Regions from separate parts of the Homo sapiens genome. Here region 1 is linked to region 2. Evidence: promoter capture Hi-C in human tissues and cell types (Jung and others, 2019). All regions are on one chromosome and are shown on one strand. Each heading gives the region's core, a stretch centred on a gene start or on the middle of the fragment in contact. The rest is flanking DNA. Distances are from core to core; before and after follow the strand shown.

Region 1 (3,704 bases), core at 281-2,780, 200 kb before region 2:
TTAATATTAACACATAATTGCATGTGTGTAATCGTACATGCAACGTGTTTTGTACTTTTTAGGTTGACAGGTATTCACATCCTACTAAATGATTGTTTAAGTTAAGCTATTTTGCTAATAGCGACCTTAGAATATCTTATAGTTCCTAATGTTACCTAATTTCATCACAGGCAATTTGAGTATAGCTAAAAGCCAAAAGAACATATTTCCTACAACCATTGAGTTTATACATTAAGAAATTGAATCATGGAATAGGCATTTTTAAAGTCATTTGGAATTTGATAGCACAGGAGTAAATAATTTTTATTTTTATTTAAATTCACATAGAGTAGCATGTGGTAACCCAATATTTTGATACTTGAAGTGGTTTTTTTTTGAGATTCTATTTTTATTATTAAATGTAATTGGGTACCGCTGTGCAGTCTATGTAGTCTAGTTTATGTAGTCCAGTAATTTTTTATAACTATCCAAGCAGTCAAAACTTAATGAAAAAAAGTTAAACTTAGAAAATTTTTTCTGGACTTCTTGAAAGTCCTTCCTATTGTTGAGACATGCGCTGCAGCAGGGCTTTCATGTCTAAGTTAAAACATAGCATGGAAATGTGGCCTAAAAGAAATTTGTGAGTAAATAAAATTTGGTATATACTTTAATCAGATGAAAGTGTAAAAACTTTCATATTATTAAAATAGTCTCTTGTTCCGTTAACATGAAAAGGAGATTGTATATTTATGTATGCAAGTCAGAAAATCTCTAATAAAGTAAGCAAGTGAGCTGCAGAACACTAGTCATGAAAGCCCAATATACAATGAAAACAATGATTGCTCAGCTGTGAAAATAATTTTTGGAGTCAAGTAAAATGTTAAGCTTGTTAGCGTTTGCTTATTAAGTAGGTTAATGCTGTTTAGAAAATGACCAGTTGCAAAGACAAAGACAATGCTGAAGTGAATGTTTGCATGACTTGCTTTTAGTTTTGCTTGCTCCTTTCTGATTAAATATTTTTCCCCCTCCTAAATGCAGGGCTTCAGATAACAGGGAGCGTGCTTATGAACATAGTGCCTATGGACACCATGAACGGGGGACGGGAGGATTTGATCGGACAAGACATTACGATCAGGATTACTATAGAGATCCTCGAGAGCGGACTTTACAACATGGGCTCTATTACGCTTCTCGGAGTCGAAGTCCAAATCGCTTTGATGCTCATGACCCCCGATATGAACCTAGGGCTCGCGAGCAGTTTACACTGCCCAGTGTGGTACACAGGGATATCTACAGGGATGATATTACCCGGGAGGTACGAGGCAGAAGGCCAGAGCGGAATTACCAGCACAGCAGGAGTCGGTCACCACATTCATCCCAGTCTAGAAATCAGTCTCCTCAGAGACTGGCTAGCCAAGCATCTAGACCCACAAGGTCCCCTAGCGGCAGCGGCTCTAGAAGTAGATCCTCCAGTAGTGATTCAATCAGCAGCAGCAGTAGTACCAGCAGTGACAGGTAGGTTAACAGCCTTTTGTTATAACAGATGAGCTAGCTTTAAACAAATTCTCAACAATCAGTGGGAATGGTTTCAGCATAGTATTATTTTTTAAAGTAATCTTGGATCATATATGTATGTAATCAGTAAAGAAACTGGCATGTGGCCATTGAATTAACTGTTCTAAGTACTCGAAGTTAAGTGATGATTTGCAAAGTTCTGTTTCATCCTCCAGATGCACAGTATTAAAATTAAATGATCAAAGTGGAAGGGAGGTGGTGACTCTAGCTGTGCAAGGCAAATCTTGTGACACTGAAAATATGGTATCTCTTTAACATTTTTAATTTTGTAGGTGTATAATACCAATTTATTTCTATTATTTTGATTGAAGATTTGTAAAAGCTGTTTGGTTAAATATGTATTGGTGAAATATAATATTGTTGACACATTTATTATCAATGACTAGATCAACTTATGAACAAATTTTAGCTAATTTTAACATCAGGGTGGTAGCCAATTTATAAACTCAAGTAGAAAAGCTTCCTTTGAATGCAGGTTGTAACTTTACTGTTCTGTAAACTGATCTCACTAGTTGAGAATTTCTTTCTACAAATATATATATATATTTTAAAGACAGTCTCACTGTGTCACCAAGGCTGGAGTGCAGTGGTGTAGCCTTGGCTCACGGCAACCTCTGCCTTCTGGGTTCCAGCAGTCCTCCTGCCTCAGCCTCCCAAGTAGCTGGGATTACAAACGTGCGCAACCACGCCTGGCTAATTTTGTATTTAGTAAAGATGAGGTTTTGCCATGTTGGCCAGGCTGTTCTTGAACTCCTGACCTCAAGTGATTTGCCCACCTCATCCTCCCAAATTGCTGGGATTACAGGCATGAGCCAGAGTGCCCAGCCAAAAAGTTTTATTTGAAAAGCGAAAATAGTAAGTTGAGGGTAATCTTAATAAGAAACTTAGCTTCAAACCTAGTTATATGGATTTTGAAATCACAGATCTGGGTATGTGGTATAGATTATCCTTTAAGTAATCTAGGATAAGTTATTTATGTTCTTCAGGTCTCAGCTTTCCCTTTTTTTTTTTTTTTTTTTTTTTGAGATGGAGTCTCGCTCTTGTCACCTAGGCTGGAGTGCAATGGCGTGATCTTGGCTCACAGCACCCTCCACCTCCTGGGTTCAAGTGAGTCTTCTGCCTCAGCTTCCCATGTAGCTGAGATTACAGGCACCCATCACCATGCCAGGCCAATTTTTGTATTTTTAGTAGAAACGGGGTTTTACCGTGTTGGCCAGGCTGGTCTCTAACTCCTGACCTCAGGTGATTCACCTGCCTTGGCCTCCCAGAGTGTTGGGATTACCAGTGTGAGCTACTGCGCCTGGCCAAGCTTTCTCATTTTTAATAAGGACCTTAATAAAGTTATTGTGAAAATTAAAATGAACACTTAATGTAAAATGCTTACTTTGATACCTAGTATATGTTAAAAAAAATGCTGCTATTCAATTTGTTAATCCCACATGTCCTGCTTTTCAATTTAGGTGGTATATATTTAAAATTTACAGTCAAATTCTTTGACCTGATTAAAAGGCTCAGATTACTTTTCTTTTGCCTGCTTAAAATTAATTTAAGCAAATGGTCATGTAGTTGAATGTCTGTTTTTAGGCTTCCTGAATTTTCTTATTCAAAATAATACATGAAAACATTTTGTTTATCCCTCTGCCTATCTAGATATAATTCAAACATTCTGGAAGATTTGCATATTAAAATGAAACAAGCACCTAGTTTAGAAAGTCATGAAAGTTACGTTCTATGCCCAGCTTTCAAGCCGTGTGACATGGATGAAAACTCTTAACTTCTTTTGATTTTATTTGGTGTGCTGTCTAGATAAATGATTGATGAAATTCATTTGAACCCTATAAACTAATTATAAAATCTTGTTCCACTTTTTTTTCTGCATAGAATTGTCTAAAATGCTCAAGTTTTAGTCATTTTCCATAAACCTACCTCATTAAAAAGCTGCATCTGCATTCCACTGGATCAAAACTTATTGAAAAGGTGTTGAGGCACTGGGCGTGTGGCTCACTCACGCCTGTAATCCCAGCACTTTGGGAGGCTGAGGCAGGTGGATCACCTGAGGCAAGGAGTTCGAGACCAGCCTGGCCAACATGGTGAAACCCTGTCTCTACTAAAAATACAAAAATTAGCCAGGCATGGTGGCACATGCCTGT
Region 2 (3,583 bases), core at 908-3,407:
TCAGTGATGCAGCCACCCAGAGTCTCTGGGACCCTGGCTGTCCCCTGCCCACATGGCTCCCCATATTCCTTTCACCTCAACCCAACTTTCCTGGATGCATGTTGAGACTGCCAGGGGCCCCGTCCTCTCAGGAGGGGGACAAGGCTGGACTATACAATTAGATCTGGGGGGCGCTGAGGAAGCCCAGGCTGCAGAAGGAAGGGTGGAGAGAGCGTATCTTGGCTGCTGTGGCCCCAAAGAGCCCTGGCAGAGGGGGCGGTGGAGGGAGCCCCAGGTGTGGGGTCAGAGGACCTGGGCCCCAGCCTCTCAGGGTGACCTTAGCAGGCGTCTCTTCCTCCCCGGCCTCTGTCCCATGCTCAGTGGGTTCTCAGCTCAAAGGCCAGTCCTTCTGGGCTGGGACCCCAAGGTGCCTGATATGGGGTGGCCAAGTGAAGGGGAAGGGACACTGAGGAAACACTCAGATCCCCTCCACCTGGAGCTGGCCCCAGCCAGAGACTGCCTAGAACCTTTGGGGTTTCTGGAGCCTGGTGCTCCTAAAGAACCCTCAGCACTCCTCACTCTTCAAACTTCCTTCCCCTCCCGCTAGGCTGCAGGCCTCCCGTACCAGGTGCTGTGCTGGGTTCCTTGCTGCTGGATGCCCAGCATGCACACGGTGCCTGGCACACGGCAGCTATCATGTTAATATCAGCTTAATGCATGGATAAGTAAAGGAACCCCACACAGCCTGACCCTGTACCTTCCCCTTCCCCAGCCGGGATTCCACCCCGATACCTCCCAGAGACATCCTGAGCCACTTACCTGAATGCCCACAGGAACTCCTGAGCAGAAGCCCTTCGAGTCCAGAGGATGGGGGAAGGTCATTGTGCTCCTTGCTCAATACCCCCAGGACAAGGTCCCCTCTATTCTGGGTAAGCTACTAGGGGTGATGGGTGTGGTGGTGGTCAGTGGGTTTGGCCTCAGCCTGCAGAGCCTGAACCAAGGCCAAAGCCACCCCCACTCCCAGTCACACCCCCCTGATCCCACTGTGGGGTGAACAGACCAAGGTGGGAGAAGGGCTCAGCCCAATCGCTTGTCTAAAATGTTGCCCAACAGCCTGTTGGAAAGCTGGTGGTGATGGGTGGGGGTGGAGGTAGGGGGCTCCAAAGACCAAACTGCCCATCCCCCAATCTCTGTGCAAGACTGTGTGTCCCCTCCTCACAGATAGAAGAGGCTGGGGCCTGCCCTGGGCCCCCAGGCAAGGGCAGGTCCCCTCCACCTCCTTGGGTACCACGTGGGGGAGAGTGGAGGGTGACAGGTCAGACACAGAGAGAAAGGCCCAGGGGTAACTGGGAACATCAGCTGTGCTCTGGCCCTTCTGTCCCCTGTCCAAGGATGGGGGTGGGGAGGAGGATTAGGGGGCAGGGGAACCTTCTTTATAACCTGTGCCCCACCATTAACCCTTTCCTGCCAACAGGGTTCAGGGGCTCTGCAGATGGGGGCACCCGGTAAGACGTGGGAAGGGGCTGTGGGGGTGAGCTGGTAAGACCTGTGTCTTGGGGAGGGGTGGGAAAGGGAGGGTCTGCTAGTTCTCCCGGTGCCCGCAGTTCCTCCGGGAAGCCAGGAAGAACCAGAGCTGGTTCCCAGGCACCCGGCAGGGGGTGTGTGGCTGTAGGGATGAGAGCGCGGCACGGCACGGGACCCTGCTTCGTGTCACCTGCGGGGCTGCAAACTGGGGCGGGGATGCGGTGACCTCTGCACGTGCGCTCTCTGCGCTGCCCCCGCCCCCTACCGTCCCTAGCTCTGTCCCCCTCAGGACGCCGCGTCCCCAGGGGTGCGGCGGGGCCGTGAAGGGCGGGTCGCCAGCCCCATCCCCCAGGTCTCCGAGCGGCGAGGGGACTGCGCGGGTCCCCGGCACCCGATCCCCCCGCCCCCGGCCGGGCCCCCTCACCTCGCGACACGCAGGAGCCCATCACGGGGCCGCGGGGCCGGGCCGCTGCGCCCGGGGTGCGTGGGGCCGCGGGGCGTTCATGTCTCCGCGGGCCCGGGGCTGAGCGCTGCGGAGCCAGAGGACGGGCGGGGCGGGGGGCTCGGGCGCCCTCAGCTCGGCCTCAGCTCCAGCCTGGGTCGTCCCTGCTGCCGCCGCGCCCGGCTCGCCTCGCGCCGCCGCCTCCCGCGCAGTGCCCGCCGCTGCCAGGGGAGGGCGACACCGCGGGGCGCGGCGGGCGGGGCCCGGGGGAGCGCAGCCGGGAGGCTCGGGCACACCTGTGGCCGCAGCGCGCGGGAGGGCCATCTCTGTCCCTTCGGGGCTCCCCCACCTCCTGGGGTTGCCCGGGCTGAAGGTCAGGGAAGGGGACAGAGGGGGCGGGGAGACTCCTGGCATTTGGGGCACAAAGTAAACAACATGAATTTAACCACACCAACGACGACTGGGCACGAAGGCTTGGGAGCGAGGAGGGGTGCGCGCAAGAACAACAGTTCCATTGGGCCTATTTTTAGAGGATGAAAGTGAGGCTCGCAGAAGTTAGAGGCCTTGCCTGAGAGCCCTAAGCTGTGAGTTCAGCGACTTTTGACTGTCAGCGCCTCATTCAGAGCTATTGAAATTAACATATGCAAAATAATATATGCCCAGAGGTGGGGTAGAGAGAGTGCGGGTAGATAGTGCGCTGGTGGCCTGGCGGCGGGATGAAGGGTCTCCAGCGATGGTTGAAGAGGGGGGCAAGGCTGCCTCTCAGGGCTTGTCTAGGGCAGAGTAAACTGAGGCACAGGTTTTTTTCCCCAGCCCTGGACGGCCTCTGTAGTCATTCACACTTACTCGCACGTACCTACACACACACTCTCCCATGTGTACATACCCCTCATTCACACACTGATGGTCATACACACACATATATATGCACACTTGCATTTACATACACGCACACACACTCACATACCTACACATGAATACACAGTCTCCCATGTGTACATACCCACTCACACCCACACAATGACAGTTATACACTCACATTGAAGCACGCTTGCATTTACACACACACACACACACACACATCCCAGCTCCTGAGGTGTGAAGATCCTTTAGCAAAATTTCCCATGCACACAGCACTCAATGTCAGTGTCTGAGACCCTCACTCACACATAGCATCTCGCTCTCTCCTTCATGCCCACCTGTGCATCAGGCAGGGCAGGCACTCTTGTGTCTGTTTTCCAGTTGAGGCAGCCAGGTTCACTGGTGGCAGCAGAGAAATGTTTTGAAGAATGAATAAGGAGGGGCCAGGCGCGGTGGCCCACGCCTGTAATCCCAGCACTTTGGGAGGCCAAGGCAGGCAGATCACTTGAGGTCAGGAGTTCGAGACCAGCCTGGCCAATATGGTGAAACTCCGTCTCTACCAAAAATATAAAAAATTAGCTGGGTGTGGGCTTGGCACAGTAGTTCATGCCTGTAATCACACCACTTTGGGAGGCCGAGGTGGGCGGATCACCTGAGGTCAGGAGTTTGAGACCAGCCTAGCCAACATGGTGAAACCCCGTCTCTACTAAAAATACAAAAATTAGCCAGGCATGGTGGTGGTGGGCGCCTGTAATCCCAGCTACTCAGGAGGCTGAG

The links. Contacts are between HindIII fragments. The study calls those that stand out against the background at their distance.
Region 1: a fragment that was not itself captured here is called in contact with the fragment with the promoter of FAM131C in region 2 in 1 of the 25 tissues and cell types used here (aorta).

The regions. Positions count from the first base shown.
Region 1 is chr1:15,875,185-15,878,888 of GRCh38, forward strand. SPEN (spen family transcriptional repressor) reads left to right here. Exons shown (of 15, transcript NM_015001.3): 3 at 1,018-1,494. Among named protein-coding and RNA genes, the nearest start is that of SPEN-AS1, 29 kb to the left of the region's middle. The HindIII fragment of the contact is 3,998 bases long and covers 1-3,529 here.
Region 2 is chr1:16,071,494-16,075,076 of GRCh38, forward strand. It overlaps FAM131C (family with sequence similarity 131 member C), which reads right to left and starts at 2,158. Exons shown (of 7, transcript NM_182623.3): 1 at 1,928-2,158. The coding sequence starts at 1,949. RefSeq lists a silencer at 2,053-2,212 and an enhancer at 2,421-2,920. The HindIII fragment of the contact is 22,024 bases long and covers 1-3,583 here.